Linked DNA regions of Homo sapiens: all the other regions are linked to region 3. The links are contacts of gene promoters, found by promoter capture Hi-C in blood cells and fetal thymus (Javierre and others, 2016). All regions are on one chromosome and are shown on one strand. Each heading gives the region's core, a stretch centred on a gene start or on the middle of the fragment in contact. The rest is flanking DNA. Distances are from core to core; before and after follow the strand shown. Region 1 overlaps EIF4E1B (eukaryotic translation initiation factor 4E family member 1B). Region 2 overlaps B4GALT7 (beta-1,4-galactosyltransferase 7). Region 3 holds the start of NSD1 (nuclear receptor binding SET domain protein 1). Region 4 overlaps GRK6 (G protein-coupled receptor kinase 6). Region 5 holds the start of PDLIM7 (PDZ and LIM domain 7). Region 6 overlaps F12 (coagulation factor XII). Region 7 overlaps FAM193B (family with sequence similarity 193 member B).

Evidence for each region. Contacts are between HindIII fragments. The CHiCAGO score rates a contact against its expected background, and 5 or more counts as called.
Region 1: a contact is called between a fragment that was not itself captured here and the fragment with the promoter of NSD1 in region 3, in 1 of 17 cell types (total B cells). The highest score is 5.0, in total B cells.
Region 2: a fragment that was not itself captured here is called in contact with the fragment with the promoter of NSD1 in region 3 in 1 of 17 cell types (neutrophils); the score reaches 5.7 in neutrophils.
Region 4: a fragment that was not itself captured here is called in contact with the fragment with the promoter of NSD1 in region 3 in 1 of 17 cell types (endothelial precursors); the score reaches 5.2 in endothelial precursors.
Region 5: a contact is called between the fragment with the promoter of PDLIM7 here and the fragment with the promoter of NSD1 in region 3, in 4 of 17 cell types (neutrophils, erythroblasts, M0 macrophages and 1 more). The highest score is 8.5, in neutrophils.
Region 6: a fragment that was not itself captured here is called in contact with the fragment with the promoter of NSD1 in region 3 in 1 of 17 cell types (endothelial precursors); the score reaches 7.5 in endothelial precursors.
Region 7: a fragment that was not itself captured here is called in contact with the fragment with the promoter of NSD1 in region 3 in 1 of 17 cell types (monocytes); the score reaches 5.6 in monocytes.

What each region holds. Positions count from the first base shown.
Region 1 is chr5:176,643,048-176,647,306 of GRCh38, forward strand. EIF4E1B (eukaryotic translation initiation factor 4E family member 1B) reads left to right here. Exons shown (of 9, transcript NM_001099408.2): 4 at 35-219; 5 at 592-687; 6 at 1,329-1,392; 7 at 2,083-2,196; 8 at 2,330-2,469; 9 at 2,819-3,597. The coding sequence ends at 2,933. Among named protein-coding and RNA genes, the nearest start is that of TSPAN17, 2.3 kb to the right of the region's middle. RefSeq lists enhancers at 397-1,038, 1,039-1,678, 2,260-2,770, 3,041-3,335 and a silencer at 4,009-4,259. The HindIII fragment of the contact is 4,593 bases long and covers 1-3,548 here.
Region 2 is chr5:177,602,354-177,606,108 of GRCh38, forward strand. B4GALT7 (beta-1,4-galactosyltransferase 7) reads left to right here. Exons shown (of 6, transcript NM_007255.3): 2 at 1,826-2,188. Among named protein-coding and RNA genes, the nearest start is that of B4GALT7, 4.1 kb to the left of the region's middle. The HindIII fragment of the contact is 2,999 bases long and covers 935-3,755 here.
Region 3 is chr5:177,131,101-177,135,203 of GRCh38, forward strand. NSD1 (nuclear receptor binding SET domain protein 1) reads left to right here and starts at 2,673. Exons shown (of 23, transcript NM_022455.5): 1 at 2,673-2,852; 2 at 3,987-4,103. The coding sequence starts at 4,004. RefSeq lists enhancers at 1,664-2,215, 1,708-2,002, 2,216-2,769, 2,770-3,321, 3,322-3,875 and 1 more and silencers at 2,039-2,708, 2,789-2,948, 3,009-3,308. The HindIII fragment of the contact is 6,719 bases long and covers 1-4,103 here.
Region 4 is chr5:177,441,478-177,445,593 of GRCh38, forward strand. GRK6 (G protein-coupled receptor kinase 6) reads left to right here. Exons shown (of 16, transcript NM_001004106.3): 16 at 260-1,414. The coding sequence ends at 313. All of the region lies in intron 1 of PRR7-AS1 (PRR7 antisense RNA 1), which reads right to left. Among named protein-coding and RNA genes, the nearest start is that of PRR7, 3.3 kb to the right of the region's middle. The HindIII fragment of the contact is 806 bases long and covers 2,175-2,980 here.
Region 5 is chr5:177,496,008-177,500,071 of GRCh38, forward strand. It overlaps PDLIM7 (PDZ and LIM domain 7), which reads right to left and starts at 1,597. Exons shown (of 13, transcript NM_005451.5): 1 at 1,521-1,597; 2 at 410-516. The coding sequence starts at 505. RefSeq lists enhancers at 249-990, 2,203-2,252, 2,471-3,210 and silencers at 793-872, 1,283-1,992. The HindIII fragment of the contact is 22,050 bases long and covers 1-4,064 here.
Region 6 is chr5:177,403,859-177,407,739 of GRCh38, forward strand. F12 (coagulation factor XII) reads right to left here. Exons shown (of 14, transcript NM_000505.4): 3 at 2,104-2,203; 4 at 1,877-1,947; 5 at 1,465-1,575; 6 at 1,196-1,327; 7 at 952-1,056; 8 at 641-806; 9 at 338-555; 10 at 1-232. Among named protein-coding and RNA genes, the nearest start is that of F12, 3.8 kb to the right of the region's middle. RefSeq lists an enhancer at 1-683 and silencers at 1-18, 49-98, 449-778. The HindIII fragment of the contact is 1,849 bases long and covers 1,686-3,534 here.
Region 7 is chr5:177,547,055-177,550,881 of GRCh38, forward strand. The region is part of intron 1 of FAM193B (family with sequence similarity 193 member B); the gene reads right to left. Among named protein-coding and RNA genes, the nearest start is that of FAM193B, 5.6 kb to the right of the region's middle. The HindIII fragment of the contact is 5,989 bases long and covers 1-3,827 here.

The sequences.
Region 1 (4,259 bases), core at 2-2,501, 490 kb before region 3:
TCACAACCCATCCTGACTCCTTTTTTTGGCTCAGGTGAGTGAAGCTGAGGGTGGAATCCGAGAGTGGGAGGAGGAGGAGAAGGAGGAGGAGGCAGCAGAGAGGACGCCCACAGGAGAAAAGTCTCCAAACTCTCCCAGGACTTTGCTGTCTCTGAGAGGGAAGGCCCGGACGGGGGGCCCCATGGAAGTCAAGCTGGAGCTGCACCCCTTGCAGAACAGGTAGGCAGGAGCCTGCGAGTGGAACACAGCCCCTTGCTTTCAGGCCAGCCTCTGTGCTGGCAGCGTGGCCTTGGGCAACCCCGCCTCTCTTGGCCCTAGCTCTTCATCCGTGGGAGGCCAGGGCTGACCTAAGCCTTGGGCCCTGTTGGCCCTTCCAGCCCTAACCCCGCAGAGACTGTGGGTCAAACACCCCCACTCCTCCCCTGCCCTTCAGGACAACTGATTTCATTCACCTGAGAGGGGAATGCTGTGCCCCAAATCTCATCTCCCAGTTCGCCCTTGAAGGGGAGGGTCCTCCCTGTCAGTCCAGGTGCCCCGGGGGTGGACTTGGCTCTCTGCTTCCTCCTGGCTGCCTCCCCCTTCCCCTACCAGGTGGGCTCTGTGGTTCTTCAAGAATGACCGCAGCCGGGCCTGGCAGGACAACCTGCACCTGGTCACCAAGGTGGACACTGTGGAGGACTTCTGGGCGTGAGTGTCTGTCCCCAGTGGGGCTAGAGTTGGGGGGCTCTGAGCTCTGGGCTCCCTCTCTCCGGGTTGAGCCAGCCCTCCCTAGGGCCTTTCAGCCTTTGTGAGGGCTGGGGCTTTGTGGGTTCTGCCCAGGGGGTATAGGGCACAACCACCCCCCACCCCACCACCTTCTTTGGGCTCAGGGAGAGAGCCTGGGGAGCAGGAGAAGCAGGAAGCTGACCTTGACTCGGCCACTCCAGGGCTTTGTGACCTGGGCAAGTTCCTTCCCCTCTCTGAACCTGTCTCAGCTGCAAAGGGAGGACTCGGCTGCCTCAGTGTCCGGGTGCTCACGGGAGTGGCTCTGAAAAGGGCTACACAAGCCCTAGGGAGGGTGAGAAGGCCTCGGCTGTAGCTGGAGGGGGGAGCACCAGGGGGTCTAAAACCCTCCCCAGGGGTTGGCTCAGCCTTCACTGGGAAGGCTCTGTGGAAAAGGTGGGTCTTGAGAGTTTGGATAAACGGGAGTGGAATCCCAGGTGGCAGGCCAGTGTAAGCAAAGGCTTGGAGGCCATGGGGTCGGATGAGGAGTTGGGAGGGCTGAACCCAGTTGGAACCAGGCCCTAAAAAGCCTTGACTTTTGGCATGGGGTCGGGGGCTCTGTCCAGGCTATACAGTCACATCCAGCTGGCCAGCAAGCTCTCCTCTGGCTGTGACTACGCCCTCTTCAAGGTAAGCTCTGCTCTCCTCTTTCCCTCCCGCAAAGGGACAAGGGGTTGATCCCTCCCGGACTCCACTGCGTTAATCCCTCAGAGGGGTGGGGGTGGGGAGCTACGGGCCACCTCTCAGCAGAGTTGTGGTTTCTGACTGGAGGAAATGCTCTACAGGAGCCCGGACAGAGTAGGTCAGGCCCAAGCCGCACCTTGGAGGACCTTAAGAGGCGGGAAGAGGGAGAGGGAGAGATTTCTGACCTGGCTCCTTAACTAGGGAAGGGCATCAGAATTGCTTGAGGACACTCATTGATGCCACACCCATCCCTGGAGGGCTGACATTGTGTTTAGAGATCTCCCCAGTGACTTCTGCCCTGCCTGGGAACCATGCAGCCAAGCCTGGGATGTCCCCCTTGCCTGCATTGGGGTCTGCCCCTGAGGCTTCCTTAATCCACCCCGATTTGAATGCTTGTCTTAAGGAACTCAGTAAAAGAGACATGCACATATACAAGGCTATACAAGGTGACCAGTGCTGTCTGTCGGGGGGAGCTGAGTGGCTGGGGGTGGAACCTGCTTGCACTGAGGGAAGGGAGGATAAGAGAATCTGGCCTACTTAGGGCCTCAGCAGAGAGCGGATAAGGCCGGGATGGTGGGTGGGTCCCCATTTCCCTTTGAACACAGGGAGGCAGTTGACTTGCCATCTGCCTTGCAGGATGGCATCCAGCCCATGTGGGAGGACAGCAGGAATAAACGGGGTGGCCGCTGGCTGGTCAGCCTGGCCAAGCAGCAGCGCCACATTGAGCTGGACCGGCTGTGGCTGGAGACGGTGAGTTGGAGGAGGAGGGTCCTCAGGGGAAGAGACGGGCTGTGTGGGTCTCATGGTGGCAGTGGTCTCAAGGATGGCAGGCCAGTCCCTATGTCCCAGCCGGTGATCTCACAACCCCCTACTTCGGGTCCAGCTGCTGTGTCTGATCGGGGAGAGCTTTGAGGAACACAGCAGAGAGGTATGTGGGGCCGTCGTCAACATCCGCACCAAGGGGGACAAGATCGCTGTGTGGACGAGGGAGGCGGAAAACCAGGCGGGCGTGCTGCACGTTGGGTGAGGAGGGTCTCTGGCACAGGGTGGGGACTTGGGTCTCTGCTAGAGGGAAGGTGGGTGGAGGGGGCTTGGCCTGCATGGGAGACCTCTGAAAGTCTCCATAGCCTCCCTCCCTTCTGCCTTGCCCACCTGTATGGAAGGTCTGGCGTTCAGATTTCTAACTTTCTCTTACGGCAGTGCAGCTCTCCTTTTGCATTAAGGGGGTCATATTTTGGGTTTCCACATGGGTAAGACACAACAGGTGTGGCTGTGGCCAGAATGAGGGTAGGAGTCTGGTGGCCTAAGTTATCTCTAGGACCCTCTGATGACTACCTGTGTCTCTTTTCCTCTGTGTCCCCCGCACCTGCAGGCGTGTATACAAAGAGCGCCTGGGCCTCTCCCCAAAGACCATCATTGGGTACCAGGCCCATGCAGACACAGCCACCAAGAGCAACTCCCTAGCCAAGAACAAGTTTGTGGTGTGAGGGGGGCCTTGGCACCCCTCCTATGTAATGGGACAGCCGCCACTGAGCCTCATTACTTTGGGGGATGGGGCGGGACTGGGGATCAGACAGCCTAGTTCTTACCTGTCCTCAAGTGAACAGGAATGCAAACACTCTTTAACATGAGTTGGGGCCTGAGCCTTAGGGGCTAGATGGGGGTAGTGGTGGCAGTCTGAGGACCTAGCTTGTCCTGGGGCCACAGGACAGCAGCAGGGTGGAAAAAACTCCTGAGGGTGGGGTGAGTCATGGCGGGGAAGGAGGGCTCTATGGTAGGCGGAGAAACCCATAGTCCAGCGTTTACTGTTTCCACCCAGGAAGGAGGTGAGGTGGCCTGAGAGACAGACTCTTCCATGGGTGGTGGGCTCAAGGGCACAGACATTCTGGAGGGTGAACGCCATCATTTGTACAGAGGGATACGTGGGTTGCTGAGGACTGAGAGAGCCTTGCAAGGCCGCTCCCCTTCTCCCCAGCTGTGACCAGGGCTGTCTGGGCCTTGCCTGCCTCAGGGCCAGACTGAAGTGGAGGTGGAGGGATGCTGGGCTAGGCCTCACCAAGGTTCTGGTAGAAGTGGTGGAAGTGGATAAACTTGATAATAAAAGCTTAAGCATCTTTCTGTTCCTGTTTTAAATAAATACTTCTGAACAAAGTTGGAATTATTTTTAAGAGGGCTTCAAACTGGAGTAAGATTCAGGTTCCCCCAAACTTTGATCTGCCTCTGTCCTGTCTTACAGGGGCTCATGTGAGATCACTGGGTACCAAGGAGCCTGACCGGGACCCTGGCCAGTATGGAGGACAGGGGGTGTGGCTGGGGAAACTCAGCCACCAAGGGGGCTTGAGCCAGGTTCCGGGGGGCATATGCCCCTGGCAGGGCGCAGCCGGCGTGGCACCAAGGCCCAGGCCCTCGTTTGGCCTGAGTTTGAGTCAGGATAAGTAGAGCTGGATTTCCGCTGGGTGAAGGTGAGCCTGATGCGACTCCACAATGACAAAACGTCCTGCACGTGTTAAAAACTCAATCCGGACCAGCTTCCCCATTCGCCTGCCAGAGCAGCAGTTAACCTTCCCCTGGGATGGGCTCCAACAGCAGGCTGGGGATTGGGATGGCGCTGGTACCCAGCAGGGGAAGCAAGGCTTCTACACCCCGGCGGCCTCCGGCGCCATCAGCCGGCGTCCCGGGCGGGTCTGCAGGACGCTGGGAAACGCGGCGGCGGCCTGCGCGGGGGCGGGGCCTGGCCGAAGGCGGGGCTGCGAGGAGGTCCGAATCAGGCTGTGGGGGCGGAGCTCGGGAAGCGGAGCCAGGTCCAGAGGCGG
Region 2 (3,755 bases), core at 1,184-3,683, 470 kb after region 3:
TGCCTTACCCCTTTCTGTAACTCACTTGGCAAGCTCTCTGCTGTCTGGCCTGTGCTTGCTGTGCTGGGGCCACAGATAAGAATCTGACACGGCCTGAGAAGCAAGGACACAAGGCATTACAAAAAAGTGGGAAGATGCCGTGGGAATACAAAAGTGGGAGCATTATGGGGGCAGGGGGCAGTGCTGGCCATGACATTGGAGTTCGGCTCTGAAGGATCAACAGGGGTCCTCAGGCAGATAAAGAAGGACATTTCAGGCAGAAGGAGCAGGCTGTGTGAGGGCTGGAGCAGGAAGGAATATAGCAAGTGGAGAAGCTCCGAGGTGCCCAACATGAGAACATGGGGCGAAGGCTTGGGAGCACCTGGAGTTGGGGCCAGGTCATGGAGGGCTTTGACTGTCAGGCCAAAGGGCTTGGCCTTTGTCTGGCAAACAGAGGAGGGTCATTCAGAAGACTGAAGGGGTCTGAGCAGGGCAAGGAACAGATGAGTGAGGAAGGATCAGAGGGGGACTTAGGAGATAGAATTTATTTATTTATTTATTTATTTATGAGATGGAGTCTCGCTCTGTTGCCCAGGCTGGAGTGCAGTGGCGTGATCTCAGCTCACTGCAACCTCCGCCTCCCAGATTCAAGCTATGCTTCTGCCTCAGCCTCCCAAGTAGCTGGGACTATAGGCGCGTACCACCACACCCAGCTAATTTTTGTATTTTTAGTAGAGATGGGGTGTTACCATATTTGCCAGGCTGGTCTTGAGCTCCTGACCTCGTGATGCACCTGCCTCGGCCTCCCAAAGTGCTGGGATTACAGGCGTGAGCCACCACGCCTGGCCAGGAGATAGAATTTATAAGACCTGATAGCTAATCGCTGACTCTTAAGATTGTGAAGTGGATTCCTTTGCAGATTACTTTGGGGAGAAGGTAGGGGGAGTACAGAGGAAGCTTCTCCCTTCATGGATTCCTCAGCTCCTGTCTCAGCATACTCAGGAACTTCCAGAGGAGCGGCAAAGGAATCTGGTGAATTCTGTTTCTTTGTATTTGCTAACCAAAAGGCTGTCTCCTGGCATCACCCCAGTGTCTGTGATGTTCAGCTGTTTTTCCAGTTTCTGAAATCAGTGCCTGTGCTGTACCCAGCCCTCATCTTTCTTTCCCTCTCCATCTCCCATCTTTTATCATGAGCTGCCTCTTGGACTAAAGGTTTGAGGCTCGTTCAGTGAACCGCCACTGACAGTTTGGGCCTTGCATTGCTTCGGGGGGCACGTCTGATCTTCCCAGAGTAAACATTGGTCATTTTACCTGGACTAATGCCAGCACACACCCGTGTCTGGGTGGCCTTTCTGGTCATTCTTGGAAGCAGGATGGAGCCACGGTTTCTGCTGGGGTGGATCTGTAGGGGAGCGGGTTTGGAAAGCAGTGGGTTGCATCTCTAAGGTGGGGACTCCTGTCATTGGCTCAGGACATTGAGCCACTATCGTGGGGAGGAGCACCTGCAAGTGACAGGAGCCTCCTCATCCTTGCCCTGAGCAGCTCTGACCAGGACTCAGTCACAGAAAGTAAGAGAGCATTGAGGAGCCGGGGCAGCTCTGTGAACTGGGAGTGGTTCAGAGGGCTTCCCGAGAGCGGGTGGCATGGGTTGGGTCTAGAGAGGCAAGCAGGATTCGGATGCATGGTAGTGGCATGAGCAGAAACATTAAAGTTGCTTCTGTACTAATTCCCAGGTGCTTGGGGTAGACGAGTTATGTGCAGCCTCCTCGTGGGGAGGCCAGAGAACGGGTCTGTCACAGGGCCAGCCCTGCCCCGCCCTCCTGACCCTGTCCCGCGCTTGCTCCAGGTCCGGGTTGCTCTCCGGCGGCCTCCCTCGGAAGTGTTCCGTCTTCCACCTGTTCGTGGCCTGCCTCTCGCTGGGCTTCTTCTCCCTACTCTGGCTGCAGCTCAGCTGCTCTGGGGACGTGGCCCGGGCAGTCAGGGGACAAGGGCAGGAGACCTCGGGCCCTCCCCGTGCCTGCCCCCCAGAGCCGCCCCCTGAGCACTGGGAAGAAGACGCATCCTGGGGCCCCCACCGCCTGGCAGTGCTGGTGCCCTTCCGCGAACGCTTCGAGGAGCTCCTGGTCTTCGTGCCCCACATGCGCCGCTTCCTGAGCAGGAAGAAGATCCGGCACCACATCTACGTGCTCAACCAGGTGGACCACTTCAGGTAGCGCCCGCCCCCACCCTCTCCCCTCGGCACCCCTGCCCGGGCTCAGGCTTCTCAGGCCCTGTGAGAGGCCACCTGGGGCAGGGGCAGGAGGGCGGGAGGTGGCAGACCCCTCTCACTGGGTGTGACAGGAACCTTTGGAGAGGGCCCTGATCTAATTTCCATTTTGAAAAGCTCACTGTGGCTGCCGTATGTGGAATGGATTATACCAGGGCAAGAGGAGAAGCAGGGAGAGCAGTTAGGTGGTCACTGCTGTGGTCTGCGGTGACAGTGGCTTGATGGCCTGGTGGGGGGTGGGTAGAGAGAGGTGCTGTGGAGGAAGCCCAGACAGGACTCCCTGGGGATTGGCCCGGGGATTAGGGAAAGGGAGGGTCAAGGCCACGGCTTTAAAGTTGCCCACAGTCTGGCGTTATCCTAAAATCCCTGCCCTTACCAAAAAGTGCTCCCTTCCATGACCACAGCCTGAGATCTCACCCACCAGCCCCCACCTCCTTTCCCTCTAGGTAACTCCCACTGGAAGATGGATTCTCAGCCCCACCAGCCTGATCTTCCCACCTTTTCAAGTCCCCTTGATCCAGATCCCCAGACCCCCCCCTTTTCCCTGCCACCCTTCTTGTCTTTACTTCCTCCTTACCCAACCTGGAGTCCAAGGTCCATCATTAAAACCCTCCCTGGCATACTCCCTCAAGCCTCTGGTCCCTTGCTGCTGGCGTAATCCCAGCCTGATTTACTCCAGCTCTCTGCTCCACACCTGTGCCTGGGCACTGGAGGGTATGGAGAGGAAAGACAACACGTGAGGCGGCCATGCTGCTGTCCCCATGCCGATGATGCCCCTGCCAGGAAGGCCCTCTGCCCTGCTGGGAGCCTCACTTTCCTCTGGTCTGTCCACTGCAGCCTTTAAAACTATCTGTTCTCCTCATTCATCCCTCGTCCTCACTCATAGCTGACGACTTTGCTTCCAATTTCAGAAAACAGAATGAAATGGAAGAGAACTTTCCCCAGTTCCCTCCACAACTCACCTGCCAGCCTCTGTGCACAGGGACTCAAGGCTGTTCCAGCTTCTGTCCGGGCTGACTCCCACCATCCCCATCCTTCAGTATTTCCCCCCACCCCACAGTTGGGCCCTTCCTCTCCCTCTCGATCAGCGTTCCTCTCCTGGAGCATACCCATGAGCACACACACCCTGAAGTGGCTCCTCTCTCAAAGGAAAAAGACTCCCTGGATCCCACATCCCTCGAGGCTGTCACCCTTCTCTGCTTTCTGGCAGACCTCCTTCCCTTTCTCTCCCCTCGTCTCTCTTGAACCCCTTCCGCTCAGACTCCTGCACCCACCATGGCACAGAGCAGCTCTCACTGAGGTCACCAGCCACCTCCTCCACTCTGTTGGTCCAGAGGCCATGCTGGGCCCTCATCCTGTGGACCTGCCAGCAGCATCTTCTTTCGTAAAATGCCCCTGCTTGGGGCAGCACCCTCTGGTCCTCCCTCTGCACTGGCTGGGCCTCTGTGTCTGTGGGTTCTGCTCATCTCCCCGAGCTCTCACCATCGGGGCTTCTCTGGACTCGGTGCTT
Region 3 (4,103 bases), core at 1,423-3,922:
GGAGGAGCATTGATGAATTGGGGCAATTGGCAGAGGAGTAACTGTCAGTCAAAATGATTGGCTCAAATTATTAGGTGTGAAGAAGGAACCAGTCAGAGCTTGCCTGTTGAGTCGAATTGCCCAGATGGGATTAGCAGGGTGAGTGACCCTAGCAGAACAAAGAGCTGGCCCTTGTAGGTATAGACTCGACTTTTCTCTGGTTGGTCCCAACACATAGACAACTACCAACCTGACTTTGCACCTGAGAATCTTCAGGGTACCTCAGACTCTTCAACAGAAGGAGCCTCCCTGAGGTCACAGCCCTCTCATCAGTCCCGTTCCAGTGGGCACTTTCCCTCTAACAAAGCCCACTTGCTGTCTTGGCAGGGTCTGCATCCGGCACTTGCAGACATGTGCTAAGGGCCTGTTGACTTGGGAGCCTCCATCACTGGACTGTGGGCCTTGGAGAGCAAAAGGGTAAGAGCATCTCGAGCTCCACGCCTGCTGGGCCAGTCGCTGGCTGAAGGCAGGGGAAGGATGGAGTTTAGCTGGCCAGCACTAATGTCACACAGGGCAACGCCAAAAATGGCCTTTCTCCCAGGTGGGCTCAAAGTTAACAGAAGGCAGTGAGTAAACAGTCCACTGGGGCAATAACTATGCACATTTACTAAGCCATGGGAAGAATAGTAGTCACGTGGCCCTCGAGGGCGGTGCCCTCAGCTTGAGATGGAGTTAACTCCAAATCTAATCACAGAAGGCTTTCTGGAGGAGGCGGAATTTTTATGGCGGCCGGATCCGGCTTTCTCTGAACAGCGAGAAGGCGCTTAGCGCCCTAGGGACCAGGTAACTCCTGAGGTGAGCTTCTTGGTGGGGATCAAGCCCAGGGGGCGACGGAGTCCGGGCTGGGGGAAGGGCCCGAGGGGCTGGAGTCGCAAGTTCAGGCCCAGCTTGGGCTCCCTGTCCCGCCCTTCCGCTGTCTTGGGGGATTGGACGCCACGCGGTCGTGCTAGATTCGGTGCTGCGGGCCCGGTGCAGGATGCAGGCCGTGAGGCCCCAGGCCGAGGGCTGCGCCAGCGGGCTTGTCCCGGCCAGCCGGGCGGTCCCGTGTCCCGGCGCAGCTCCGCTGGGGTCCAGATGCCCGGCCCTCAGGGGCGAGGCGCGCACTCCCCGGGGAACCGGGCTGCGGAGCAGGCGGCCCGCTCTGGGCGGCGGTGGCACGAGAGGGCCATCTGCCTGGGTGCCGAGAACTGCAGCGTCCGCGGTGCGAGGCGCGGCCCGTCCCGTCCCGGCCCCCAGCCCGGCGCGCACGCACATACCCACGCCGGCCGGCGCCCGCTGCCCGAGCCCCCGTGCCAGGCCCAGACCTTGACTAGGCGCGGGAGGCGGTGCAGGGACTAGAGGACCCCCTCCCCCGGCGTTCCCCTCGCCCCGCCCGAGGCTGCGAGGACCCCTGGGCTCGGGGGTGGTGAGGGAGCTTCGTCCCGGCTGGGCCCGGGCTGGGGACTCGGCCTCCCTGGGCGGGGGCCGCACGGCTGCAGGCCGAGGTGCGGACGCGCTGTCAGGCTGCAGCCCGGCTCGGTGCCGGGGGTGGGCTCAGCGCTGGGGTCGCCTGGCTTCGTTCCCCCGCGGAGGCCACGGCCGGGCGAGCAGTGCCGGGGCGGGTAACCCGACCCGGCTCCCCAGAGCCGCTCACCCCGCACGGCCCGGCAAGGGGAGGGAGAGGGATGGGGGGAGGGGGAAGGGAAGGGGTGGTGGGTGAGGGGCTGTGGGCACCGCAGGGCCGAGTCCCCGGCCCGTCTGCGCTGCTGTAGGGCGGCTGCCCGCGGCACCCGGGACGATCCAGCCTCTGCCTCGCGGGCGTCGAGCCTGAGACAGGAGGGAGCCCTGGGGCTGCACAGGCTTGGCTCAGGGAGGCAGACCCGAGCTGCTGCCTCCATTTTGTTTCCTGCTCAGCTTGGTCTGTGGTGGTGGTGGTGGTGGTGGTGTGGGTTTGGGGTGCGGCCGGGTAGGGGGTTCGCCTGCGGCCGCGTCTGCTCGGGGCCTGAGGCCTCGAAGACCCCAGCCCAAGCCCCCAGGTGAGCCCTGCGGCAGGAGGGGGGTTGCCTTGGCCTCGGGCCGAACCCAGCGGGCTGAGGGCAGGTGCCCAGTGGATGGGGAGCCTGGGCTGTAACCTAAGATGGAGGCCGGGACTGACGCGGGCCCGAGCAGGGCTGGCGGGACGATCGGACAGGCCTCAGCCGCGCCAGGTGCCGCCTGGGTTGGGGTTCGAGACGCGTAGGGTGCGGGAGCCGTGTGCGGCCCGAGGCCAGCGCCGTGCCCCGAGGTAGGTGAGGGGATCGGAATGCCACCCACGACGCCCGCAGGCCCCGACACTCCAAGGAGGCGCGCGAGGCCCCTGGGGAGCCCGCCTCAGGCCCCGCCCGGGCAGCCGGGCCGGCCCGTAGGCCCCGGCCGCGAGCGGGCGCGCAGGGGGAGGGGAGGGGGCGGCAGCGGCAGCTCCGCTGATTGGGCGGCGCTCTCACAAGCCCGACTTCACCCGCCCTGAACCCCGAAGAGTGAGAGAAGGGAACGCGCGCGCTCGGTGGGGGAAGGGGTGCGCGCGCACTCGGGGCCCAGCCGCACGCGGGCCGGCGCGAGGCGCTCGGTCGCACGCGCGGCCGCGGGGGCGCGCGCGGTGGGGGTGTGAGGAGGAGGAGGCGGCGGCGGAATAGGCCGGGGCAGGTCGCGCTCGCTGCCTTCTCCCCTGAAGAGAGACGCGGGGGGAGGGGGGTGCGGCGAGCGGCCCCGCTCTCTCCCCACCGCTCCGCTCGCACCCCAGTGTAATGAGGGTCACCCCCTCCCCCCAGCTGGCCCGGGAGGGGGCGCGGGGCACGGTAACTAGTGCGCTGGGGTGGGCGGCGGGCAGGCGCGAGGAGAAGGGAGGGAGGAGGGTGGCCGGGCGGGGAAGATGGTGGTGGCCGTAAGGTGAGGGGCTCGGGGGAGGGCCAGGCGCGATGCGGGGTTGGTGGCCGGCGGCGCTGCAGCCGCCGGCCTCCTCCCCCTCCCCCTCCTCCATCACTACCAGCCGGGCTCAGGCCTAGCTGGCCGGGCTGCCGCGAACTTCCTCCCGGCGCGGCCCGTGCCCCGCCGGCCGCCTGCGAACACCTCGGCCTCCGCCTCCCCTCAGGTAGCAGGCTGCGGGGCGCGGGGCCGGCTGCCCTCCCGCAGCAAACTTTGCTTGCTGCTGAATATTGATGAGAGCGATCGGCTCGGCTGGGAGGTGCTGCCGCGGCTGCGGGAAGGAGCGCGGCCCGGGCAGGCGGCGGCGGCGTCGGCAGCAGCCATGTTTTTCGAGCTGTAGCAGCTGCTGCTACCCTGACTGGGCTTCGCTGGCCGCCTCGGTTTCTCCCTCTGCCGGGTCCAGGCCTCTTCGCCCTGCAGCTGCGGATCCAGCAGGCCTGCATTCAGGAAGGCGAGCTCTGGGGTGCAGCCGCCTCGGCCGGCTCGCCTGCGGCCTGCGCACCGCCGCTGCAAAGGCTCCGGCGCTGGCTGGGCGCAGGGTGCAGCGCTATTGTGACCGCTGCGCCCTAGCGAGCCAGGAAGGGGGGGGTACCTTTTTGTGCAGGGTCCAGGAGCCCCCCTCGGACCCCGCAGCCTTTTGCTTTTGAGAGATCCAGCTGCTCGACCCCTGGCGAGGGAGGGGGAGGACTAGTCCTGTTTGAGAATTGGGAATTTTGACGGGCAGAGGGGTTTTAATTTTAGTTCATCCCAAGTGTCCACCAGTCTACAGAGGAGGAAAAAGAGACGGGCTGTTTCTATGTAGCAGGATCGGCCCAGCTTCGGGAAAATGGAGTTTTCAGAGGCTCATCGAGGCCATTTTTTCATCTCCAGTCGGGGGAACTTTTTCTGCCCATGGAAGTGCAGCAGAAAGGCATAGAGGCCACTAGGCCTTGAAGTGGCTGCCATTTTAAAGAGTCGAGTCAGATGGCCTATTAACTCAGATTAATTGCTGTGCTTTTGGATTCCAGGTTGATGCCGGCCCAGGATGGATCAGACCTGTGAACTACCCAGAAGAAATTGTCTGCTGCCCTTTTCCAATCCAGTGAATTTAGATGCCCCTGAAGACAAGGACAGCCCTTTCGGTA
Region 4 (4,116 bases), core at 1,328-3,827, 310 kb after region 3:
AGGCCTTGCCCTGGCAGACCGTGGGATCTACCCAGCCCCCTTACTTCAGTCTGTTGCCGGCAGCCTCTGCAATGACGCCCACCCACGTGTGGCCTGAGCTGCTGCTCCAGGCTCCTTGTGGAGAGGCCCCTCCCCAGAGTGCACCCCTCAGGCAGCTCCTGGCCTGCCCTGGCAGGGTCGGCCCCATGTGACGTCCCTCGTGGTTAATGGCACCTGCTCTGCCTCTCTCCCTCCCTCCGTGTCTTCCCCGTCCCTCCAGGATTGCTGTGGAAACTGCAGCGACAGCGAGGAAGAGCTCCCCACCCGCCTCTAGCCCCCAGCCCGAGGCCCCCACCAGCAGTTGGCGGTAGCAGCTACTCCGAGCGCCGTTTACAGTTTTGCACAGTGATCTTCCCCATTGTCCACTCAAGTCGTGGCCTGGGGAACACAGACGGAGCTGTCCCCAGTGTCCTCCGTCCCTCAGCCCCTGGCCTGGCTGAGTTTGGCAGGGCCTGGGCCATCCCTGGGACAAAGGTGCGTCCCTTCAGCTCTTCTCCGTGGAGCTCGGGGCTTTCTGTATTTATGTATTTGTACGAATGTATATAGCGACCAGAGCATTCTTAATTCCCGCCGCAGACCTGGCGCCCCCGCCTTGGCTCCTGGGGGCAGCCAGCCCTGGCTGGGAGAGCGGGAGCTGGCAGAGGAGCCACTGCCAAACTCAAGGCTCCTCTGGCCCAGCTTGGATGGCTGAGGGTGGTCACACCCCTGAGCCTTCAGCACTGTGCTGGCCACCCCGGCCTCTGAGTAAGACTCGTGCCTCCCCCTGCTGCCCTGGGCTCAGGCTGCTACCCTCTGGGGCCCAAAGCTGTCCCTTCTCAGTGCTTGTCAGCGCTGGGTCTGGGGCCTCTGTATGCCCTAGGCCTGTGCCAAAGTGGCCAGAGATTGGGCTGCCTGTGATACCCATCAGCCCACTGCCCCGGCCGGCCCAGATAGGTCTGCCTCTGCCTTCCAGCTCCCACAGCCTGGTCCCTGATACTGGGCTCTGTCCTGCAGACACCTCTTTCAGAAACGCCCAAGCCCAGCCCCTAGGAGGGGGTGGGGCATCCCTGGTCAACCCTCAAACATTCCGGACTCCCCTCATAACAATAGACACATGTGCCCAGCAATAATCCGCCCCTTCCTGTGTGCGCCTGTGGGGTGCGTGCGCGCGCGTGTGTACCTGTGTGGGTGAAGGGGATAGGGCGAGGCTGTGCCTGTGCCCCAGGTCCCAGCCCTGGCCCTTCCCAGACTGTGATGGCCATCCTGGTCCCAGTGTTAGGGTAGCATGGGATTACAGGGCCCTGTTTTTTCCATATTTAAAGCCAATTTTTATTACTCGTTTTGTCCAACGTAAGCTGCCACATGTCTCTGTGTGAATAGTCCGAGCACAAACCTGGCTAGCCGCCCCTGCCTGCCTCTTTCTTGCTTCCGGTGCTCCAGGGGTCTTCCTGCTCCCCTGGCCCAGCTGGAAGCGGGAAGGGATTGGAGGTGGGCCTGGAGGGAAGCAGGGTGTGCCCTTCCGAGGCCCAGGAGCCCCCAGGGCTGACTCTGAACTAGCCTCTCCAGACAGCCAGGCTTTGGTAGCCTTTGGGCTCACCCAGTGGGTTTCCCAACTTCCTAAATGGGATGGGGCCTAAGGAAAGAAGCCTTGGGTACCCACTGGGATGTGGGTCTGTTTCTGACTGCTGGTAAGGCGGGCCCCGTTGGTGTCCTCCCCTCCAAGGCTAAGGTGGCCTGGCTGCCTAAATGTGGACGTAAGAGTAGGGTGGGAGCTGTGTAAGGAATGTCTGCCCCAGGCCTGCGTTACCTGGACGCCAGCCATGTACGGGCCCCGGGCTGAGGCACGTGCATCATATCCACCCCTCTGTTTTGCCCTTGACACATTATGGGCAAAGACCTAGACAGTGGGTGACGCTGGCAGATAGGCTGTGGCCAGTGTGGGAGAGTTCTCTGAAGACGGTGGTTGAGCCGGCCTCGAAGTGGACATTCACCTGGGAGGAAGGGGGACTGGGAGGCACTCAAGGGGAGCTTCCTGCCTGGGCTCTGGGGCTGAGAGCTTGTTGCCTACCAGTCTGTCCCAGATCTGGCAACCCCATCACTGCTCTATAGACTCCCAGTGTCCCCAGCTCCCTGAGAATGCCCCGTAAGCCCCATCAAGCTTGTTCCTGGCCTCTGGACTGGGCACCCAGTGCTGCAGGAGCCATGTGAGCTTTGTAGCTGACAGTTCCAGGTTCAAGCCCCAGCCTGGCCACTTTTCAAGTTGGCCCTGCACAGGCGCTTCCCTGATATGGAAAGGTAGGTGTAAGACCCATCACCTTTCTGGGCAGCTGTGAGAATCCACCAAAGCAGCCAGCCAGCCCCTTGAGTTCCCAAGCCACCGCAGGACTCCCACCTGCTGGGGAGTGGTGCTGAGTACCAAACTAACCACCTGGCTTAAGCACAGCCAGAAGGTGCCAAGCCAGCAGCCTGGCAGAAGGGGCCTTTTGTGGCCCCACTCATGACATGTGGAGTGCCTGCTGCTTCCCACCAACCTAAGGGAAGTAAGGGGAGTGGGGACCTGCTCAAGGTCTTCCAACTGGTTAAGTGGCCATTGCAGGGTGGGGAGGAAACCAGGTAATGATGGGAAAGCTGGATCCTACCCATGTATCATGAGAAAGGAGCCTGGGGTGGGTTTGCCCCTCTGCCCCAGGCTGTTATGAGGTGGGAGTGGGGGATTTTTAGGTAGGTGTTAGCATGTCATACCAAAGCCCAGCCCTGGGCAGGTATGCAAGAGAGCGCGTGCCAGGTGGATGTGCAGGACCCTGAGGCACTCTGCCTGCACCTGGATCAGGACACCCTGGCCAGCTCCCCCTTGGGCTAGGGAGGCATCCAGGGAACTTCTTGGCTAGGGTTAAACTCACCTTAAAGCTCTTAACACAGTGGGTCCTTGGCAGAGGGAACTCCCAGAATTCATTTCCCAAGAAGCTTCCCTGAGCTGTCCTCCATGCCCAGCTCTATGGTGGGAACTGGGACCCAGATGGAGACGAGGCCCCTGGCAGCTTGGAGCTCAGTCTGGTAGGGAGGCAGACGTGGGAACAGCGGGACCCAGTGTGATCAGCACTGTGGAAGAGAGGATTCTAGAGCTGACAGGGTTGGGGGTGGGGCAGCACCAAACAGGGAGGCCCCTTGACCCTGAAGGTGTCAGAATTGGTGCCCTCCAGGACACAGGGTCAGATGTACCCAAGTAGAGGAGCCAGATGGATGGTCTAGGGCTTTAGTGGTTTAGGATGGCTGAGCATGGGAGGCCAGGGGTGGAAGCAAGGAATGGCTGGAGCTGAAGTCAGTGAGACACAGCCAGCTTTGAAAGCTAGATTAAGGATCACAGGGTTAAGGCCCAGATGGGGCCTCATCTGGAAGGTAGGGGATTCCCTGAAGGGTTTTTACTGGTTGTGTTGGGGTGTTTGCTCCAGCATGTACAAAAGCACCCCCAGTCTCTGTCCATGTGGTTTAGACGGGGCTGGGCTTGCACCCCCTGCACACGCATACTCCACACACATACCTAGAGTGAGAGAGCCAGGTGGGAATGTTGCAAGTGACAGAACTGTCCTCCCGCTAACTTAGAAGGTGTTCCAAGGATATGGAGGAGCTTCGGGGTCTTAGTTGTGGGCTCCATTCTCATCAGGAGACACCCACCAGAACCAAGATGATAGAGCCATTTGGTTTTGCCTCTTTGAGCCCAGTTGCAAACTCAAGGAGTCTGAGTGGCCAGGCTGGATACCTGCCTGCTGTGCACTGTCAGGGAGCAGGGCACTTGGGTTCACAGTTTCACCAGGATGGCACCCGTGGGGCAGTGATTCCCCCATTGAAATCAGGGTGCCTGTATACAAAGAAAAGGGAGCGGGTACTGGGAGGCCATTCCCTTTGCATAAGGAGCACATATCCTCTCCCTTAACACACAGGCACTTAGATTGGTTCACTGATAGAGACTCAGCCCAAATGAGTCCAAAAAGAATCATTCATGGAGTTGTTTGCTTGTATTTTGCTCAAATGATGGGGAAGGAATTGGGGTTCCGTTTTCCTCCAGGGATAGATGGCAGGATATGAGCCTAGGGCTGTTGG
Region 5 (4,064 bases), core at 347-2,846, 360 kb after region 3:
AGGATTGCTATTCCCTGGGCGGCAGTGAGGCTGAAGTGAAATCCTATAGTCACAGTGTCCTGCCTGGGGCCTGGCTCCAAGCATTGCCACCTCAAGTTTAGATACCTCCTGAAATGTTAGGCTCCCATCCTGCACAATGAGCCTCCCTCCAGCCCTCAGAGGTGGCCACAGGAGCTTGGGAGAACAGCATCGGGTACAGTGCAGGGCTGGAGAAGCCTGGGTGCTCCCTCCCAGTATCCACCTCATTGGGAGTCCTTGTGGCAGGCAGGTACCACTACATCTCCGGACCTAGACATCTCCTGGCCTGCTGGCCCCTGACCAGCTCCTGTTAGGACTCCCCCCATCACCCTCTGGAGACCTAAGCACCGAAAGACCGCTGGGGGAGCCCCCTCCCCAAACCTAGGCTCACCCGGGAAATGGAGAGGGGCACATTGAAGTCCTTGCCCCCTTGCAGCCGGAAGCCCCAAGGTGCTGGCCCCTCCAGCACTACTTTGAAGGAATCCATGATGCCGGCTCCTGAGAGGAGAGAAGAGAAGGTGAGTGGCCAGCATGGTGGGCGGGCAGGCAGGCAGGCCGGGCCAGCTCAGGATACCAGCCTTGGACAGGGGCCAGGCAGGCACGGGCAGCCCCTGAGCACGCCCAAGCCATAGGAGGCAGGTATTTTGTCAGGCTGGCCTGGGCTGCTGGCTGGCGGACCTCACTTTGGAAAGACAGGAGCAGCCCCCCTCCCCTTGGGACTGGAACGGTGAGGGGTGCCTGAATCCAGGCTTGAGGTTCTTTGCAACCAGGGGTGGGCCGAGGGACTAAACTGGCGCGGCCTCCCCCCAAGCCAGCCTGGAGCCTCGGGCGGCCGGGTGAGTCAGGGGCCGGCTCTCCTCTCCCCCGCCCCCAGGTCCCGGCAGGCAGGCCGCGGCTGGAGCCTGCTCGGACTATATAAGGCGTGTAAGCTGACACTGTGCGGAGAGCCAGCGGAGGGAGCACACGGGGGCTTGGGACGCGAGGGGGGGGGGAGGGGAGGGGAGGGGAGGGGAGGGGAGGGAGGCGGCTGCAGCGGATCCTCCTAGCCATTCCGGGACCAGTCGAGGCTGCTGGGAGCCAGGGCGGGACCCCTGGGTGCTGAAGAAGGGGAAGGCGGGAGTGGGGTGCGGCCCCTGTGGAGACAGATGGGGGCTGGGACCCTCAAGCATAGCTTGGAGGGGGATCCTTCCCCGAGCCCAGTGGGGGGTGGTGCCTCCCACACAGAACTGCTCCCACACCGACGTGACTCAGTTTCCCCTTAGTCCCCCGCCCGGGCCCCATGCATTAGACTGGCCCCGGCCGCAGGAAGCGGCGCAGGCGCCAATCGGCCCCGCCGCAGCCGGCTTAGCGGCAGGAAGGCGGGGGCGGGGGCGGAGGCAGGGGCCAGGGCCAGCGGGAGGAAGCACAGCCTGGACCACGACCCCCAGTGCCCTTTGTGGTCCTCAGCAGGCCCCGGGCGCCCGCCTGGTGCAGCCCAAGACGCCCCGCGCGGTCGTCGATACCTGCTTGGCCCGGCCAGGGCGCTGCTCTGCGTCGGGCTCCAGGGAGCCTCGTTGGGATCGGCCGCCAGTGTTCTGACCCCGCCCCCACAGCCACCCTCCACTTTGAGCGCGCGGACGGGGGCGGGGCACCAGGCCACGCCCTCGTCGCGACCACGCCCACTAGACTTTCTCCGCTGGTGGAAAGCCCCACCCAGCTCTTCCGTCCTGCCCAATCACCAAGTCCCGTCGGGCTTAGAGCTGAGAGGCCTCGCCGACCCGGGCCCTGCAACGGGGCGGAGTCGGGAGGGGGCCGGGGCTGCGGGTCGCCTCCTTAGGGAAGCGCTGCCTCGCCCAGTCCCTCGCACCGCCCGCTGGCGGAGGGAGAGGAAAGCGGACCTTCAAACCAGACCGACCTGGGACATAGTAGTCTCTGAACCTTAGTTTGCTACTCCGAAAAATGGGACGATCATACTCGCCTCGCAGGGCTGCCGCGAGTGTCGGTATCGTAGGCGCAACCCTCGGGGACTGCAGAATCTGTAAATCAGAGGGGCTGGGGGAGACAAGTTGAGGGGGACAGGGGCGTTTAAAGCTAGAGTTGCGCAACGCTCTGCCGAAGGCAGGAAAACAGGGCAGGAGCGGACGCCGGATGTCCCTGCAACCCCGAGCCGACCCGCGCACCGTCGGAAGCGCCGCGTCCCGCTCCACCTTGGCCAGAGCGGACTGCGCCGCCTGGGAGGCGTCCTCAGAGTCCCGGCCCCGCGTTCAGCCCAGGCACTAGGGCCGGCGGCACGGACACTGAGCACATGCGGGTGTCGGGGTGAGGGAAGGGGCGTCCACCCTCCACTCGCTTGGTGGTCCCGGCCCATCACCTCCTCCTAGGACAGAGTCGCTGCAGTTCTCCCCTCTCCATCCACAGTCATCACACCCACCCTGTTCTGCACAAACCGCCGTGAGAGTTCTCGTCGTTAAAGACCTTCTCTTGACCCCACATCCCTCTCCAGCTACTACCCTTTAATTCTCCTCTCGAGAGTAAAATTCCTCCAGGGAGTTGTCTGTTTATCGCGTCTCCACTTGCTTTCCTTCAGTTATCTCTTGAAGCCATGCCAGGCGGGCTCTTGTCCGCACCCGTCCCCTGAGATCTCTCTTCTCAAGGTCCCCTGTGGCCTGGAGGCCATGGGGCCATGGAATCCGTGGTGGTTAAGTTTCATCCTGCCCTGCCTAGGGGCAGCACTGGTCCAGGTTGATCCTTTTCCGCGAAACACCCTTTTTCCCTGGCTTCACAGCTTCCCCCTGCCCCACTGGCCCCTCCTTCCCATCCTCCTCTGCCTCTGGCCTTGGCCATCTGATGTCGCCTCTCTTTATGCTCACCCCCTGAGACCCCGTACTGTCCTGTGGCTTTCAACACCACCTATATGCAAAGGCATCCCATGTTTCATGGCCAGCCTGACCTCTCCCCAGGAACTCTAACTCCATTATCCAAAACCCTGCCTAGATGTTTACTAGATCAGGGGTCCCCAACTCCCCGTTTGTGGCCTGTTAGGAACTGGGCTGCACAGCAGAAGGTGAGCAGCGGCAAGCCAGAGAAGCTGAGTGCAGCGGCAGCATTAGACTCCCATAGGAGCGTGAACCCTATTGTGAACTGTGCATGCGAGGGATCTAGGTTGCTCATTCCTTATGAGAATCTAATGATAAATGGGCCGGGTGCAGTGGTTCACGCCTGTAACCCCAGCACTTTGGGAGGTTGAGGCGGGGGAGGATCACTTGAGGTCAGGAGTTCGAGACCATCCTGGCCAATATGGTGAAACCCCGTCTCTACTAAAAATACAAAAATTAGCTGGGCGTGGTGGCGCATATGCCTATAATCCCAGCTACTTGAGAGGCTGAGGCAGGAGAATGACTTGAACCTGGGCAGCAGAGGTTGTAGTGAGCCAAGATGGCTCCACTGCACTCCAGTGTGGGTGACAGAGCGAGACTCTATCTCAAAAAAAAAAAAAAAAAAAGAGTCTAATGATAAATGTACTGCACTCGAACCACCCTGAAACCATCCCCACCCCACCCCCAGTCTGTGGAAAAATTGTCTTCCATGAAAGCGGTCCCTTCTGCCAAAAAGGTTGGGGAACCACTGTACTAGGTATCTCAGACCATCATGGCCCAATTCAAACTTGTGCCTTTCCCACCTTCCTAACTCCTTCCTCACTTCAAGAAGTGCCACCAACATTTATCCAACTGGTTCAGCAGAAACGATGAAGTTATCCTTTCTCTTCTGTCCTCCCCCAGATTCTGCAAATTCCACCTTCAACATGTTCACATCTAACCGCTGCTGCCACCATTGTCCCAGCCACTGCCATTTTGTGCCTGCGCCCCTGTAACGGTCTCCTAACGGGCATCCCTGCTTTCACCCTTGCCCCTTCCAGAGTCTTCACGAAGCAGCCAAAGTGATATTTTTAAAGCCAGAATCACAGCACCATGTCACTCTCAGCTTTTAGCATTCCAGTGGGCTCATATTGCACTCAAAATAAAACTGAAGTCCTTAAGACCTACAGAATATGAATAAACTGGGTCTGA
Region 6 (3,881 bases), core at 1,360-3,859, 270 kb after region 3:
CGGTCCTGCAGGCAGTGAGCGGCCGTCAGCACCCAGCAGGGGGCGATGAGGCTGCCGGCGCAGAAACTGTGGCCCCAGTACAGCGCGGCGATGTAGGGGTGCGCCCCGCGTAGCGCCACCAGCCCGCCAACGACGCGGGTCATCGAAGACAGACTCTTGCGGAGCCGCTGCCCGCAGCTCAGTGGGCCGTTCCTGGTCAGGGAAGGCGGCTGCTCCCGCTTCGCCGGCAAGGCTGTGGAGGAGCAGGGGCTGAGGACGGAGAGCCCGCGGCCGGCTGGCCGGAATCTAGCTCGCCCGGCGCCCTCTCGGCTCCTCCTTCCCCCCCCCACTTCCTAACCTCCCGGGGTCTGGGACTGAGGCGGGGTCCGGGTCGTGGGCTGAGGCTTCGGCGGTGCCGGCTGCGCGGGCATGAGTGGGACATGAAGCCTAGGGGACACCGGGGTCGGAGGCGCCGCCTGGGTTGGGGTCTGGCACTGTGCCAGGTCGCAGTACTCCCAGCTCAGCCGGTCGCGGTTCAGCACGAAGCACCACGGGCGGATGTCGTTGTCCGGGTTCCTGTAGCCACACGACGGGGCGCCGTTAGAGCGCCGGGAGCCCGGAGCCCTGGGGCGGAGGGGTCACCCAGCCCCACGCGGCGCACCGGCAGAAGGCGTGGCCGCCCAGTCCCCAGTTCCGCGCTTGCTCGGCAGTCACGTTCCGGTAGGTGGCCTCCGAGGCCCACGGCTGACAGGGCGCACCCGAGAGCGTGGTCCTGGCCAGGCCGCGGTAGCTGAGCCCGCGGCCATCATAGCAGCTTGCCTTGGTGTCTGAGGAGAAAGGGGGCTCCCTGGGCAGCCAAGGCTGGGCTCTCCTGCCTCCCTCTCATCTGCTTTCCGCACTCTCCCTCCTCCTTCCTGGCAAGCCCGTCCCACCTGGGGGCTGGCCTTCTGCTTGCCCCAGACCCTCACTCACCCACGTCGCAGAAGGCTCCGGTGTAGCCCACCGGGCAGTGGCACAGGCGGTGGCCCTCCACCTCTAGGCAGCGACCCCCATGGAGGCACGGGTTGGTGCGGCAGGCTTGGGGAGGGAACGCAGTGAGCCACCCCTGGGCCTAAAGACCCCCCCAGAGAGCTCTCCTTCCTGGCACACCACCCGGCCTCCTGCCAGCCTGTCTTCCTGACGCTCCTCCCTGGCCCGTTCCCAACCATCTGCTCACCCTGGCTGGCCAGCCGCTGGCAGTGGGCATCAGGACCCTTGCACTGGCATCTGGCCACAGCTGCTTGCTCAGTTCTATACCATATCTCATTCTTGTGGAAAAACCGGAGAAGCTGAGGCTCAAAGCACTTCTCTGGGGACAAAGAGGGATAGTGGTCTCAGGAGAGTCTAGGACCATGCCAAGTCTCCGAGTATCCAGCAACCTATTCTGTAGGCCCAGGGTTGCCCCTGTCCCCCAGCACCCCGCCCAGGTCCTCCACATCTCCTCACCTTTCTGGCAGTGGTTTCCAGTGAGGTGTTGTGGACAGAGACAGTGGGGGCCGCTTGGCATGTTCACACAGGTCCCTCCTTTCTGGCAGGGGCTGTGTTTGCTGCAGTGGTCTGAGAGATGGACATGGTGGAAGGAAGAGCAGGGAGCTGAGTCACACAGCTGGGGGCCAAGGCCCTTCTTGAACCTACTTGCCTTGTGACCTTGCTACTCCAAGTTTCCAAGCTTGGTTTACCCACCTGCAAAATGGGACCACTCCTTCCCAGAACTCTCCCTCTGGACTTCCAAAGGGTATTGTGGAGGGAGAGAAGGGGCTGGGTCCAGAATCCCAGGTGTGTGGGGTCTGGTGATACCAGGAGAGTAATGAGGCGGGAGGAGAGAGCCCCAGGCCACCCCAGAGGCTGTGTGTAGCACCTTTCACTTTCTTGGGCTCCAAACAGTATCCCCATCGCTGGTCCTGATCAAAGTTGGGGGTGGTAGCACACCTGTAGAAAGAGACAAGGCTTCCCTGCTCTACCCAGGGGCCTGGCCCACCCTGCCCTATCACAGTCCCCTCTCTCCAAGCAGAGTTCCTTGGACAGAAGGACAGGCAGGGTACATGTCTCCCAGGCCCCTGCTCCAACTCCTCTGCGTAGTCTTACCAGGGCTGAGGGCCTGGCCGGCCCTTGTGGGTACATTTGTGGTACAGCTGCCGGTGGTACTGGAAGGGGAAGTGGCAGGGCTCCCCGGTGACAGTGAGAACTGCAGGGACAACACACTCTCTGAGGACTTCCCCTGTACTCAACTGCTCAGGCACTGTCCCTCAGGGTCTGGTCAGGAAAAGGACAGACCCTCAAAAAGGTCGCTGTGCATTGAAAACACTTTCTGCTCTAAAAGTTGGGTTCAGGGCCGGGCGCGGTGGCTCAAGCCTGTAATCCCAGCACTTTGGGAGGCCAAGGCGGGCAGATCACGAGGTCAGGAGATCAAGACCATCCTGGCTAATACAGTGAAACCCCCTCTCTACTAAAAATACAAAAAAATTAGCTGGGGGTGGTGGCAGGTGCCTGTAGTCCCAGCTACTCGGGAGGCCGAGGCAGGAGAATGGTGTGAACCCGGGAGGCGGAGCTTGCAGTGAGCCGAGATCGCGCCACTGCACTCCAGCCTGGGTGACAGAGTGAGACTCCATCTTAAAGAAAAAAAAAAAAACTTGGGTTCAGGAGTCAGATAGCTGGAGTAGACTCCTGACTCCACAACCTGCTAGCTGTGTGACCTTGGGTAAGTCTTCAGTCCCAAGGCCAGGAAGAGCACTTGCCACAAAGTAGGCACTTAATAATACTTGTTGAATGTTGAAGTCACTGTTAACCACTCTGATCTGAGCCTTGGTTTCCTTATCTGTAAAACGGCAGTAATAATAGTACAGTTGATCCTCATTCTTCTCTGGTTCTACATTGAGAATGTGCCTACTTGCTGAATTTTATTTGTAACTCCCAAGTCAATACTTGAAATGTTTTCATGGCCATTTGTGGGCATGCACAGAGCAGTGAAAAATTTGCACATTCCCAGTTAAGGTTCAACAAGGCGTCACGCTGCTGCTGCTTGTTTCAGCTCTCCTATTGAATGAGTGTCCTTCTCAGTCTACTTAGTGCAACGTTTTTCACACTTTGTGCTTTTGCTGGGGATTTGGCTTTTGGAAATGGCCTCTGAGCCTCCTGCTGAAGAGCTGTGTAGTTCCTAAGCACAAGAAGGCTACCTTAGGGAGAAAGCGTGTGTTAGACACTTGATTCAGGTGTGTGCTATAGTGCCATCAGCTTAGCATTGATGAATCAGCAACACATATACTAAATAAAATGTCTTTAAACAGAATCATACATAAAACCAGATTATATGCTGTTGGTTGATGAAAATGTTGTGACCAGAGGCTCACAGGAACCTAATACTGTTTGCTAGTTCAATGTTCACTGTGATTTTATAGAACATAACCATCGCGAATAATGAGAATTGCCTGTGTCTTCTTCAGAGGAATTGTCGTGGGGCTTCATGAGATAATGCCATGAAATGCTGAGCAGTGTCTGGCACAAAGTACCTGCTCAATAAGCTTTTGCCACTATTTTGTTCAAGGCAAAGTGCACTTGCCAAGGACCAAACCAGAACTAGGACAGTAAATGGAAATGGATCTGAGATGGACCTTTAAGATGCAAATGGGGGCCAGGCGCGGTGGCTCACGCCTGTAATCCCAGCACTTTGGGAGGCTAAGGTGGGCGGACCACCTGAGGGCAGGAGTTCGAGACCAGCCTGGCCAACATGGTGAAACCCTGTCTCTACTAAAAAATACAAAAATTAGCTGAGCATGAAGTTGTGTGCCTGTAATCCCAGCAACTCGGGAGGCTGAGGCAGAGAATCGCTTGAACCCAGGAGGCGGAGGTTGCAATGAGCCAAGATC
Region 7 (3,827 bases), core at 1,140-3,639, 420 kb after region 3:
TCTTGGAATATTACTCAATTTCTTTGAGCCTCAATTTCCTCATTTATGAAATGGGAATAAAACCATATTTTACAGAGTTGTGAGGACAGAAGGAAATAAATTATGTAAAGTACCTGGCCTGGGCCTGGCACAAAGTAGGTGCTCAATACCCGTTAGTTTCTTTCCTCTTCTGCCCTGGAAGAAATGACAGGGAAACTTACTAAGTGAGACTTGCCCAAACCAAATTTATTTCTTTTTTTTTTTTTTTTGAGACGGAGTTTCGCTCTGTCGCCCAGGCTGGAGTGCAGTGGCGCGATCTCGACTCACTGCAAGCTCCGCCTCCCGGGTTCACGCCATTCTCCTGCCTCAGCCTCCTGTGTAGCTGGGACTACAGGCACGCGCCACCATGCCCGGCTAATTTTTGTATTTTTTAGTAGAGACGGGGTTTCACCGTGTTAGCCAGGATGGTCTCGATCTCCTGACCTCGTGATCCTCCCGTCTCGGCCTCCCAAAGTGCTGGGATTACAGGCGTGAGCCACCGCGCCCGGCCCCAAATTTATTTCTTGAAGCAAAGGACAGAAGGACTAGACAAGTGACTTCAAGGCCTCTTTGAACCCCCAGCTCCTTGTTTTCTGGCTATAACTTCCTAATAAAACCTTCAGTGTTTGCAGTTCCACCAGCCCCTTCTTTCTGCTTTAGTTTCCCTACATCATTTTTCACAGTAGATAGATCTACTCGTAGCTACCACTTGTGCTAAGCATCCTAAGCATGGAGGGGGAAATAATAAAGGGAGCTAAGGGCCTTTGGTGGAGAATGAAGGGGAGATGGACTGCAGCATGTTGGCCCACAGGCTGCACAACCATGCAGCTGCTGTGCTGGGAGCCACCCAGAGTCTGAAGGATGAAGGCAGGCTCACAGGCACAGAACCGAAGGCACACACACAGGGCCCTTCCCAAGACATAGCATGCCTCTCCTCAGTCCTTCTCTGCTTCTGCACATCCTGCCAAGAAGGACCAAATACATAAAGTAGTCACACCTTCCCATATGCTGTTCCTTCTGCCTTTTTCTTCTCTTTTTTTTAGGCTCGATCTGGGTGTTACATCCTCTTAAGTCCACAGGAAGAATGAACTTGGCTTTGCTCTAGGATATCCTAACACTCTTTTGTTTAAAAACGTATCTCTAGAATAGAGCTTATCATATATATTCTAGTGGTTGAAATCTGTCCTTTCCACAATACTGTGAGCTTTTCAAGGGCAGAGCCTGTGTCCCACAAGTCACTGTATTGCAGTCATTCAGCAGAAGCTGTAGCACAGAGTAGGCACAGGTAAGTGTTTGGATACACAATGGAAGATTATACACAATGGAAGTTGGCAAATATCATTAATAGATCAGAACTGGGGGAAGGTTTTTTGTTCTGTTTTAAACTAAGGTTGTTTCTGTTCTTGTTTATGGAAAAGCTCCTCCCTGGGAAACCCACTGTTTGAAGAATACCCTAGGTCTCCTCAAAGATCCCCCTGGCACCCTCAATTCAGCAGCTCCCAGACCCAGTCACATGTCAGAGTCACTTGGGAACAATTCAACAATAGATACCTGGGATCCAGACCTGGAGACTGACTCTGTAAGTCTGGGATAGGGTCCAGCAAAGCACAGGGGATCTGATGATTATTAGCTTGGGGCAAGGGAGAGGTGGAATCAAGCAATCACAGCTGTCTCTCCCACTGAGAATTACTTCCTCACATGCTATCAGAGAATGTATTGAAGCACATCACGTTCTCTTTCCTGCTTAAAACCTTTCATTGATTCTTCACCACCTACAGGATAAAGCCTAAACCTCTTGGTGTGGTTTTCAAGAACCCTGCTAGCCCCTTCAGCCGGATCTCTCCCGACTCTCCAAATGAGTGGTGCTCGCCCTGGGTCTTTGTACAAGTTCCTTCCTTTGTTTAGACTCCTTTCTACCACCTTGTCCTCTGGAGAACTTCTACACAACCTTGAAGACTCAGCTCTGAGAAGCATTCTCTGACCCATCTTCCTCTAGGTTATGTCTTGGGCAACCCTGACACCAAATATCTACAATACTCAGAGCTACCACTTGTGTTAAGCATACCGCACTTGTTGGACCCTAACATTAACCATGTAAGACTGGATTGTCTTTTCTTTTTTTTTTTTTTTTTTTTTTGAGAAAGGAGTCTCGCTCTGTCGCCCAGGCTGGAGTGCAGTGGCGCGATCTTGGCTCACTGCAAGCTCCACCTCCCAGGTTCACGCCATTCTCCTGCCTCAGCCTCCAAAGTAGCTGGGACTATAGGTGCCCGCCACCATGCCCGGCTAATTTTTTTGTATTTTTAGTAGAGACAGGGTTTCACCGTGTTAGCCAGGATGGTCTCGATCTCCTGACCTCGTGATCCTCCCGCCTCGGCCTCCCAAAGTGCTGGGATTACAGGCATGAGCCACCGCGCCCAGCCTGGATTGTCATTTTATACATGAGAAAACAAACCAAGAGGCTGAAACACTTGCAAAGGCCACTTAATAGGGTCCAGGATTTGAACCTTTATTCAGAGGAAGCCGATGCTATATCTCCTTCTAGCATTACTGCAATTACTATACACACGTTCTCTAGACTATGAGCCCCTTGTGGGAAGGGACTATGTCTGATTCACTTCTGCATGCGCAGCTAGCCCAGGCCTGGCACAGAGCTGGGATCGGTTAGTGTCTGCACAATAAATGCCATGTGAAATAAAACTGGGCATCACAGCATGCGAATGGCTGGCCTAAATGAATAACTGCCAGCCTGGCCCAGTTGTGGGGGCAGACAAGAACAAAGTGGTAGAATCCTTACTTATTATAATTTTTAACAGCCATGTATTGAGTATATAAGGTCCACACACAATATATTTCCCCCCAAATAAATTAAAACATAGACCCTGCTCTAAAAAATTCTAGATGAGGTAAGTAAAGGTGTTAGGATCATCCATCTGATATCAAAAATTAAAAATTTAAAACTCAGCTGGGTGTAGTGGCATGCACATGTAGTCCCAGCTATTTGGGAGGCTTAAGGAGAAGTATCACTTGAGTCCAGGAGTTTGAGGATAGCCTGGGCAACATAGCAAGATCCTATCTCTAAATTAAAAAAAAAAATTAAAATCCTAAGTGGGTAAGTCTTCATTTTCAAAGGTCTTTTGACATTTTTATATAGTGAGTCTCTACTGGCTTACAAAGAAGAACCAGAGGTGGCAAGGATCCCCTCAGTATCATTTCCTCCTACTGACAATGGAAGTAGTGCAGGCTGGGTAGGCACTGATTCTAAGGGGGAGGTCCCCAAAGATAGGAACTATCTTATCCATCTGTGCACCCCAAATAAAGGTCCTGGCACAGAGGTGGTTTTGGTATCTGCTGAGTGAATTAAACATAATGAGATGCTTTTATTAAAGATACTGACTAATCATCTGCTCCAATTTCTTGAGGGAACAGTGGAAGAATCGGATCTCTAGAGTCCCTTTAAACTAGACTGGGCAAAGTCCCAGAGGACAATGTGGAGGGAACAAGAGGTGGGGAAGGGTAGGATGAGTTCACCTCTCCTCACCAACTGCTGGCTTACATCCTAGCAAGTCTCCTGGGGGCTTATTGAGTGTACACTGGATTACAAACTCAGTGGTCCAAGAGAGATGAAAGACAGCTAGCAGAGCTAACAGGCCAGAACACTCAGGCTTTGTATGGCCACCTGGCACAGCTCCTGCCCCCTCTCTTAGGTGAGGCGCTTCTATGTACTAGCTGCTGCATAGGTTGCTTCTCTTGTGAAGTATTATTATTATTTTAAAAGGAGACGGTGTTTCCCTCTCTCCCCCAGGCTGGGG